Linked DNA regions of Homo sapiens: region 1 is linked to region 2. Evidence: promoter capture Hi-C in 16 types of primary human blood cells and fetal thymus (Javierre and others, 2016). All regions are on one chromosome and are shown on one strand. Each heading gives the region's core, a stretch centred on a gene start or on the middle of the fragment in contact. The rest is flanking DNA. Distances are from core to core; before and after follow the strand shown.

Region 1 (5,485 bases), core at 2,444-4,943, 5.8 Mb before region 2:
GACCTTCTAGCAAAATTTCAAACCTGAGGGTGTTTCTGGGAACCCTCCAAACTTGCAGTTGGTGTCAGAAATCAGGGACACCTTAGAGACTGTGCCCTCAAACCTCACAGGTTGTCTAACTCTAGGTAAATATATCAACCTACAAATTGTCTCCATCACAAACTAGAGGCTATTTTATGTTTTTTTGTTCGAAATTCTCTTAAAGTATGTTTTGAACACTGATATGTTATCTTTTCTCATTTTAAAAAAATTCCAGGCATAATGAAAAGGGTGTTCTTGGGTCTAACTCAGTTTTGTGTCCCCAGCATCTAGATGGAAAGTACAAGTGATAGGGGGTTGATTTCAAGTAATAATCATTTTGTTGGAGGGGTCATTAGAAATTATTTGGTTATATGATCCTACTTTTTGGGCTTTAAATATAAACTGAATCTAGAAGGCAGAACTTGTTGTAATTACTATCCACACTTCACACATACTGTCTTAGTCCATTTTCTGCTGCTGTAAGAATACCACACACTGGGTAATTTATAAACAAAGAGATTCATTTGGCTTACAGTTCTGGAGGCTGGGGAAGTCCAAGATCCAGAGGCTGCATCTTGTGAAGGTCATCTTGTGGCAGAAAGCATCACAGGGGGAGAGAGGGTGAGACAGAGTAGTGAGAGTGCACAAGACAGAGAGAAAATGGGGACCAAATTTATCCTTTTATCAGGAGCTCACTCCCATGATAACTAACCCACTCCCACAATAATGGCATTCATCCTTTTATGAGGGCACAGTCCCTATCACCTAAATCACCTCTTTAAAGCTTCACTTCTTAATATTATTACAATGGCAATTATGTTTCCAATGCATGAATTTTTAGAGAACACATTCAAACCACAGCACATTCCTGCTTGGGCTTGAGCAAGGGCAGGAATGTTACTTGATTCTCCAAATTTAAGTCAGAATCCAGACCTCATTCTAATACAGTTGGTTAGTTTGGACAGAGCTTTGCCCTTAGCATCTAATTAAGAATATTTTCCTTAATGGATTTTCTTGAGCTGCCAAAATGTTGGCACTGAGTCCTAGTCATGATAAGTAGGTTTAAATTTTATTTTTAACTTAAATGAACAACATGTAGCCTTGTTAGTATTTTTGGAGGTGTCTGTCTGCTGTATGTCACTGAAATCATTTAATGTGAAGGGTGGGAGTAGATTGATAAAAAGATAGATGCCCAAGGAAGTGGTCTGGAATAGGAGGAGGATACGCAAAATATGGTATAGGGACATTTCTTTGATCATCCTAGTGATCAAAGATGGACCAGCTGTTAGCCAGGAGGGAACAAATCTCCTTTCCTTTTTCCTTATCTTAGTAGGATTTTGAAGTGCAAGAGAAGAGAGGTGGGGAGAGAAACTGAAGTTTCTGGCTTCCCTAGAGATGTATAAATTAAAATTATAAACTAACTTGTACAGTTTAGATGACTATGGTTAAAATGAGGGGACATTTTTGTACTATATTGTGTAGTCATCATTGTAATGGTTTCTGCTAAGCTACACATGGGCTGTTGTAATTCTAACAAAACATCTAAGCCCACATACAATTTTTGTTGCTTTCCCTCCTTTCTCCTCACAGATTTGCAGAAGATATTTTTGTGGTCAGCTGAGGCAGGAGTTTACCATTTAGGGTAGAGTAAGGAGAGAAAAGGACTCACTCTGTTTCAGCACATAACCTCTTCATTCTTGATTTTGACATCTTAGGCAGGATTGGACTTGAAAGGATATTTACTCTTTGGCTGTTGTCATACAGCTATTAGTTTCTTTTGCTGAAAAACAAATCACTCCAAAATTTACTGGCTTAAAGTAACAAGAATCATTTTCATTATCTCTAATTGTTTCTGTGGGTCAGGAATTCAGAACTGGGCACAGTGGGGATGGCTCGTCTCTGCTTTATGAAATTTTGGACCCCAGCTGACTCAATGACAGGAACAATCTGAAGGCTCATTCATTCCCATGTAAGTCCAGCTGGAATTGCAGGCTGAAGCACCCATATGTTTGTTCAATAGTTTACTACTGAACAAAGTACATTCCCCTAACCCTTGAGTGGGCCTCTATCCTGGAAATATTGAAAGGTCATGTCACTCATCTTTTGACCAATCTCCATATTTTATGTAAACATTGGTATATTCTCTTAATGGAATGTTACTTTTTTATTCAATTTTCACTAGTTTTCTCACTTACGTTCTATTTCTATTTCAGGATCCAACATTAAAGTTGGTCTCTTTAGGCTCCTCTTGGCTCAGACAGTTTCTCAGACTTTCCTTGTTTTTCATGACTTTAACTGTTTGGAGTAGTACTGGTCAGGTATTTTGTCTGATGTTTTTCTCATGGTTAAACTGGGATTATACATTTTTGGGAGCCTTATCTTTTTAATATAATCTGTCACTGTTGCAAAAGTCCACCAAAATAAAAATGTTTCCCTCCTCTGTTCAACAATCCTTCAGCTTCCCCAATTGTCTGCAGCAGAAAATCAAATTACTCAGCATGACATAGAAAGCTTTTCAGAATCTGGCTGTTGCCTTCCTCTTCAGTATAAAGTGTCACTCTACAAACCATTTGAGTTCTTTCCGGAAATGAAGCCCTAACAGTCTTGCAATGCCCGAGATTCATTCAGGTACTCAGTTCTGGCTAACTCCAGTGGATTCTCTCACCTTTTACTGCTCCTTATCTCCCGCCACTTACTTACACCACTTTCTTCTTGTCCTATACACTTTTCTAGATTTCCCCAATCTATTATTTACCACTGTGATCATTCAGTCATTCAATAAGTATTTATTGTCTACTTTGTGGACAGGCACTGTTGTATGGTTGAGGATACATTAAAAAGACAAGATTATGTCACTACCATCAGTGAGTTTACATTTTAGGGGGCAGGGTACATTTGCAAAGTACAAACAGTGTGGAAGTGAAGTATACCTTAGAGAGTCTGAGATCTCCTCTCTGAAGAACATAACTGTTGGTTTACTTGTCAGCCACCAGACTTTCCTTCTCTTTAGCTGCCTCAGAGGAGAGGGTATCTAACTCAGCTTTGTTACCCCAGCGTCTAGTTTAGCCTAATTCATTAAATTAACAGTTTTGGACTAAATAAATGCTCTGAGAGTACTATCTAAAAATTAAAAATCAGTTGCTTCCATCCCTTTCCCCAGATTTATCCTTGAAATACCTTTCAAACCTGTTTCTGGAAAAAACATTAATATCCGTAAGATTCCCATTTGAGTCAAGTATGATAACGAGAAAACTTTTGTCATTAGGATGCTAATATTAACTTCCTATTTTACATGTCCTAATTCAAAGGTAAATTTAATCTTCCGAATCTAGACCTCCCGGTTTTTCTGGAGTTGAATGGACAGGGTAAAGTCTGACACACTCTGAGTAGCGGAGTGGGGAACTGGCTGTAAGGACATCCTTAGAATAGTTAAAATTCCGCTGGGAAAACGAGGCTTTAGAGTGGCCTCGTCCTCTACGGCTACCCAGGCAGCCTTCACAAGGAAGGGCGACCAGAGTCCGCCAGTGCATAAGAGAACTACACTTAATTCACGCGGGCCTCTTTCTCCAGTCCACCTAATACCACAGGAACCTACCCAGGGCCCGCGCCCCGCCCGTTTCCGGGTTGTCGCCGCCGCTGCCGTCAAGTGCGTAATGACGTATCAATCTCCTGAAGACCCCGGAAGTGCAACTCGAACTTGGTCGGGGCGCGGATCCCGAGAGGGAAAGTCATAACAACCGCACGAGGGAGTTCGACTGGCGAACTGGAAGGCCACGCCTCCTCCCGCCTGCCCCCTCAGCCCTGTGGCTGGGGGCAGAGCTCAGGTAGGACTGCCGTTTGCGGGGATGTGAGCTCCGGGGGCAGGCCCGGGTCGAAATCAGGAGGGGGCTGGCCTGGGTCGGTCTCAGGCGGTGGTCGCTGGCCCTGGGGACCGAGGCTGTCTGGAACCACGCTGCATTCCCTGCGGACACCTCTGACTTGTGTCTGGGCCTCCGCTGATGGGCAGGTCCCATGTTCCATTTCCACTCTCTAGGCGGGAGCGACGTGTGTGTTCCCTGGATGACTTTCCTTATGTCGGGGCGTACGGGATTCTGGGAGTCCCTGGAGACAGAGTAATGGGCCCTCCTCCGCTTTCTTGCGAGTGGAGGTATTGTGGTTGTTGTATTAATTTTTTTTTCTACAAAAAGTATTATTAACTGCCAGCGCTTTACCAGAAGTCATTCACTGCAGAGGGATTAAAGTGCAGTTATAAAATGCTCTCAAAACTTGTAACATGCATGGGCGCGGGTGGGACGTTTCTCTGGGATGCAGTATGAATTAAGTGTTGAATACTTTTGACTTTGAAATAAAGTAAGTATGTTTTGGAAGCAGTCTTCTCTTTCCCTCATCCAGGTGTTTAACATATTCTTATAGTGCTCCAGGGTCTATATCTGTTGGGCCAAGAAACTCGTTGTGTTTGGATATACTGTATTTAATGACATGCAATGTTGTTGCATTTGTCCATTTCTCCCAAATCCTCAAAAAAGCTGTAGAGGGAAAAATTCTCTGGTTTTTATCTACAAGTGCATTGTATATTTATCAAAATATCAGTGCGATTTTTTAATGTAGTACATGACATCGTTTGCATTAACGCATGCCATATACTGCATAACAAATATCTCATTGATAAGGTGTATTCTTTATCCTACAATGCGAGGGACGGTTACACTGTATACATTTAGCGAATGTAGAAACTGAGTAAGAGAGTATTTTTGGATCTGCTTCGTTAAGGCCTCAGTGACAGTGCTGGTACCAGGCTTCTTTCAGAATTTTCAACTAGGCCTTACTTCCACTTAACCAGTGAATCCTACGCTGAAAAGTTAAGGATGCTCTGGATGCTTTCAGGCTATGGCTGCTCCATATGGTAGAATAAATAGTACCAAGGCCAAGAGGGAAATATTATCTATGAAACCATGAGCATCCACTTGTTTATCCATTTAGCAAGTATTTACTGGCAACCTTCAGTGTGCCGGATAGTGTTCAGGTGATGGGAAGACAGCAGTAAACAAAATAGAAAGTCCTTTTGCTCCTGGAACTTACATTCTAGTGGATGGAGACGTATAATTAACAAGTAAATATATAACAAGTAGTGATTAAGAGGTATAGAGAAAGGCAGGGCGCGGTGGCTCACGCCTGTAATCCTAGCATTTTGGGAGGCCGAGGCGGACGGATTGCCTGATCCCTGGAGTTTGAGACCAGCCTGGGCAACACGGTGAACCCCGTCTCTACTAAAATACAAAAAAATTAGCTGGGTGTGGTGGCGTGCGCCTGTATTCCCAGCTACTCTGGAGGCTGAGGCAGGAGAATTGCTTGAACCGGGAAGGCGGAGGTTGCAGTGAGCCGACATCATGCCACTGCACTCCAGCCTGGGTGACAGATCGAGACTCCGTCTCCAGAAAAAAAAAAAAAAAAAAAAAGAGGTATA
Region 2 (5,511 bases), core at 2,382-4,881:
AATCCCATGCAGGGCTTCACCCTTATTATTTAATCACCCCCCAAAGGCCCCACCTACTAATATCATGTCATTGGAGATTAAGGCTTCAATATATGAATTCTGGTGCGGAGGGAGGGGGGACACAAACATGCAGTCTATAAAATGCTTTTTAATTTTTTGAGACAGGATCTTGCTCTGTTGCCCAGGCTGCAGTGCAGTGGCATGATCTTGGTTTACTGCAACATCTACCTCTTGGACCCAAGTGATCCTCCCACCTCAGTCTCCTGAGTAGCTGGAACTACGGGCACACCCCATCACACTCAGCTAATTTTTAAATTTTTTGTAGAGAAGAGGTCTCACTATATTGCCTAGGCTAGTCTCCAACTCTTGTGCTCTAGTGATCCTCCCACCTCAGCCTCCCATAGTGCTGCAATAACAGGAGTGAGCCACTGTGCCTGGCCTCAAATGCTGTTTTAACTTAGACAATAAACATTTTCCATTAGAAAGACTAGTCTAATGGCTCTTTAGAACAGCTAGATAAAATTCCACTAAGCATATATAACAATTGATCAATCTTATCGTCTGTAAGACTGCAACAAACTTTTTACCATTATAGGTATTACTACAAATAACGTCTTTGTCATAAAGCATTTTAAGGGCAATTTAAATGAAGTAACTGTTTACAACATTCACTTAAATGATATTTGTTATGGGGAAGGCGAGAAAACAAAACAAGGTCCCAGCTGTGGAGGAATTTATAGTCTAATTAGGAAAACAGTATATGTTAGGGGAAAAAAAACTACAATGAAAGCATACGACACTTAACCTTGTTCAGAAACAGTAATTTCTTAGCAGAAAAACTAAGCAGAACATTTTGCAAAAAATATGGACTGAACTGCGAAAAAGTGATATATCTTAATGGTTTAAAGAGTTCCAGGTCAGTGTGGGTATCGTACTTTTTGTTGGTCTTGAAAGCATTTGAGAACAGTTCTCATTCAGGACATTTCAACTCATCACAAAGCCCGAATGGTAAGCAACCAAGACTTTTCTCAAAGATTATGCTCCTAATTCCCTTGCTGAAACTACTGAATTTCTTTTCATCTCCATCTATCTTTTCTTCCCTTTCATAACTGTCCCCTTTCTTTGTATCTTTGTCAAAGACACTCACCTATTTTAAATAATGGAAACAGAGAAATTACTGTACTTCAAGGCAGGCAACCAATAGATAATAATATTATTCTACCAAAAAAAAAAGACTGGGTGGCACTACCTTAAAACATATATCCATTTTAATCATTAAATAGCATTACTTATATAACAGATTTTTCACATGTAATTGAGAGAACTGTGTGAAACAGAACATTAAAAGATATTAATCAAGAGTTATTCATCAACTTGCCATACAACAAATAAGGAACACTGCACTCTGTGATCTATTAAAAATGATAAGCAGATAATCAAAACTGCGATTTCTTTTCATGGTTTTACTCTAGCAGGAATGGATTCCATTCTGATAGTAATTCCAGTTTTACTGTCACATAGAAGGAGATACTTTGCGAACCTCAATGACTGCCAGGTTTAGGACAGATATTAAGAACCACAGTGTCAGAAATGAAAGAGTACAACTTCACAGAATGTGTTGTCTCTGACAGGTTGATAGCCACTTACCTTCTCCATCTTTTCTTCCTCAAGGATAGCAGCTGCTTCCCACAGATACACCAACAGGCAATTCCAGCCCCTCTCTACCACACTTACCATTTGCAGGTGCCTGTGGCTTGTCTATTTACAACCTTGTCCCTACACAGCAGAAGCGGAACCCTTCAGGAAGTTCTGGATTCATCCTCAGCAGGATCTGTTTCACAAACTATTCTCCAGTCCCACCTTCCCTCCAGGTATTCTGTCAGTACTTACGATTCCCAGATCTTCTTTTAATTGTCACGCTGTTCGTCCCCTCACAAAATCAAGTTTAAACTAAAAAAAAAAAACAAAAAAAAAAACCCTCATACACTCAGTCTGTGTCCCCTTTCCTGACATAAAATAACTGGCCCTGTGCATGCTTCTTTTGGATGGCTGAGAACCCCGATTCCTTTGGGCCATTTACAGCTTGGATACCATACGCTCCAGGTACTTTGATAAGCAGGGTGAAATTTAATATCTATAACAACGCCTGCCTACTCAACCTTCTTAACTTCTCCCAAAACTTCCTAGTTTCCCTTCCCAATTCCAACTTCATAACAAAACATCACACTATGGCACAAAGTGAATTCATGGATGAAATTACTAACAGCTACAACTTAAGTAAGGACCCCAAGTCGTGAGACAAATTTCTGGGTTGAAAGTGCTCTGTATATCCATTTCAAGCCTGCCTCCAGTACGATGTCTCATTATAATCAAATAAAAAGGCAGAAAAAGTTGAATGGAATAGAGTTTGGAAAAAACACAAAATTAAAAGTTGTATGAGAGTTTCACTTATTTGCATCTGATATAAATATCTATACATCTATAGAAAAAAAAAACCCTCATACACTCAGTCTGTGTCCCTTTTCCTGACATAAAGCAACTGGCCCTGTGCAAGCTTCTTTGGGATGGCTGAGAACCCCGATATATCGATATATTTATAGATAGACGTCTACATATCTATCCAAATATCTATATCTATCCATATATCTACCTATCTATCTATCTATATATATATCTATATCTATCGATCGATATCTATCTATATCTATCTATCTAGACTTCCCTGGTGAGGGAGTGAACCGCTGCCTGACGGGGGCCAAGACTGGCAGAGCAGAGACGCGGTTTGTACATGAGGGGAGGTGGTGGCCAGAGCAAAAGTGAACCGCAGGCTAGGCAAAGACCACAGCACACAGCCATACAGGTGTCCAGGACCGTCAGATCCCAGAGCATCTATCTATATAGATAGGTATCTATATGGAAAACGTCCATATTGGAACGTATTAAAGAGGCAGAATTTTCTTCCTGGGTTCTCTGCTCTTGGTAGATGTTCTTCCGGCTTCAATTGCCACCTGTGAATAGTGAAGAAACTTCTCACTATGAGATTCCATTGCCCGGAAGGAGGGTAGAGCTACGGTACCCACTAAGGCAGGGAACAGAAGCAACAGACGGACAGGTCTGTGGAAATGAGGATATGCTAATAAGGGACCGAGTCAGGAAAACTAGAGGGTAACAAGAGGGCGTCAGTTAAGCTGAGACAAAATGACGGCCAAAGGTGGTCTTTACTCTCTCTAAATCACCTGGGTCTGGAGTCGACTCCCATCGCGCACCCTCACTCCCACCCCTGGCCCCCTCCCGCCCCCCACCCGCCCCCCTCCCTCTCCCCTCCCGCTCCCCACACCAACGTGTGCCTCCGTCACCTCTCAGACAGTGGATGCGTTCCTGTTGAAACCACCCAATCTACCTCAGGGTCCTCGCAAGCGCAGCCACCACGATCCGCCCGCCCACGTACCTGTGCTGCGCCTGCGCCTCCTCCGCTCTCTCAAGGTCAGCACCGCCCCCAGCCCACAACCTGGCACCCACGGAAGTTGCTTTAGAGGACGTCCTGCGTATCTTCACCTCTGCGTGGCGTGGGGTCGACGGCGCTCTGGAGAAGGGAGGAACTTCCTGTCCCGCGCGCGCACAACTTCCGGCAGAGCCGGAAGACCCTCTCTTTCGCTGTTTGAGAGTCTCTCGGCTCAAGGACCGGGAGGTAAGAGGTTTGGGACTGCCCCGGCAACTCCAGGGTGTCTGGTCCACGACCTATCCTAGGCGCCATGGTGAGTTCTTCTGTGAGGGCAGGAGTGACAACGGTGGGGCGAAAAGGGCGGGGAGGTCAGTACTGTGAAAAGAGCCATCAGGTGCTCTGCTCAGAATGGAGTTGAGACGTTGGGATGAGCTGCTGGGTAGGACCCACCACCTATCTCAGGGTGTCTGAGCCCCTGAGGAAGCAGCATTACGCCTACCTGTCTGGGAGACTAGCGGGCCGGAGGCAGGGGCGTATCTGTCAGGGAGTATGGACTGGGTAGCCTGCCTGTTCATGGCCCATTTACTGTGTATGGCCTGTGGCGCCAGGTGATCCCAGAGTTGACCTTGCCGGGTCAGTCACCTCTTCTGCGCCCCCTTCTCCATCCGCGGAACAGTGGCCAAGAACTTCAGATCTTAGAAATGCTTTTAGCCTCTCCAGGTGGACACAACGGGTCTCCTTGTATAAGATCAACACCTGTCATTTAAAGAAACGGTAGTCCCCTTATTCTTTACACTTAGCCATTTCATAATTGAAAAGGGTGTCAAATAAAAAACCCGAGTTTAGTAAGGACAGACTTTATTCGAAAGGAATATTGCAGGGGTGTGGAGGAAGGTTGAAGGAACTGTTGCAGTAGGGAGAATGACCGTAAGATTTGCATGCACCTTAAAGGTTAGGCAGAAAGGGTTTGTCTTTTGTTGGTAGGGGTAAATAAGATGTCAGGAATTGGGATGAAAATATGGGTATGATCCGGCAGTAACCAGATAATGTTTTACCCTGAGCCCATGTATTCTGAGGAGGAGCTGTTAGGAGAGGTTTGTATATGTTGTTTCAGACTGAGGGAAGGACAAAATTCAGGTACCCGAGAGAAGAGAATCTTAAAGTTTGGTTAATAAGTATTTTGTTCCGATTGATCTGTGGGACAGGTACTTCAGCAAGTCATTTACGAAGCAAAGGATGGGAATTAGAAGGGTCTAGTTATGGCCTTGTTATAGGTAAACAAGGGGTAGGGGGGTATGGATCAACCCTTAGTCTTATCTAAGTTCTACAGGAAAGATGATTCTTTGCAGTAAGCCAATTTCTCAGAACACAAACGGGGGCAAGGGGTTTCTTAACCTTTGCTGTTTTTCAAGATCACGGGGCTCTGGTGAAGTTCATTATTGTCAGTTTCTTCACCGTATACAAGATTTCAAACCCTCACTTGCAGAGGCTTCTGTCCTGGAATTTAGCTTCAGTTTGTCTTATATTTTCAGGGCCAAATATTGCCAACATTCAGTTAATGTGTGTGGTGATTGGCTTTTGAATGACTTTTAGAAACTTAGCTGAATGTAGAACAAAGACCTTCAAAATAATGTAGTTCCTGGTGCACTTTACCAGATAACCTATCTCTTTAAAGTTTTTTTTTTTAAGCCTCAGTGAATAATATGGTTTGTATTAAGAAAGTTGTTTTTCTTTTGTATCAGTGAAATTAGACAAGGATAGGGAAAACAGAACTGGGAGAAACCAAAGCCTAGTAATCACTCTTCCATCCCCATTTTTACAGAAGAAAGAATCTGGGGTCTAGAAATTGACAGTGATTTTTCTAAAGTAACAGTAGTTTGGCAGTCTGGACTAAAACTCATATTTTCATTTTTTAAATTTAAGATTAATTTTTGACTTTTTGGTCTGAAAAGTTGAAGGTAAAGTATAATTAAAATACTTAAGTTCATCATAGTCACAGAAAAGCTGAACATGAACTTGTTCTCAGTGTTTTGGAATACTAGAAGTAGAATCCTGCTTATCCTGTCGGT

The links. Contacts are between HindIII fragments. The CHiCAGO score rates a contact against its expected background, and 5 or more counts as called.
Region 1: the fragment with the promoter of ARB2A here is called in contact with the fragment with the promoter of TMEM161B in region 2 in 1 of 17 cell types (naive CD4 T cells); the score reaches 6.0 in naive CD4 T cells.

The regions. Positions count from the first base shown.
Region 1 is chr5:94,109,871-94,115,355 of GRCh38, reverse strand. It overlaps ARB2A (ARB2 cotranscriptional regulator A), which reads left to right and starts at 3,693. Exons shown (of 11, transcript NM_032042.6): 1 at 3,693-3,845. LOC105379087 (a long non-coding RNA gene) reads right to left here and starts at 3,654. Exons shown (of 7, transcript XR_001742441.2): 1 at 3,617-3,654; 2 at 2,952-3,031; 3 at 1,691-1,801; 4 at 555-609. The HindIII fragment of the contact is 15,548 bases long and covers 2,535-5,485 here.
Region 2 is chr5:88,266,965-88,272,475 of GRCh38, reverse strand. TMEM161B (transmembrane protein 161B) reads left to right here and starts at 3,631. Exons shown (of 12, transcript NM_153354.5): 1 at 3,631-3,755. The coding sequence starts at 3,753. It overlaps TMEM161B-DT (TMEM161B divergent transcript), which reads right to left and starts at 3,594. Exons shown (of 3, transcript NR_039995.1): 1 at 3,449-3,594; 2 at 1,891-1,950. RefSeq lists enhancers at 3,465-3,654, 3,345-3,844. The HindIII fragment of the contact is 4,710 bases long and covers 2,557-5,511 here.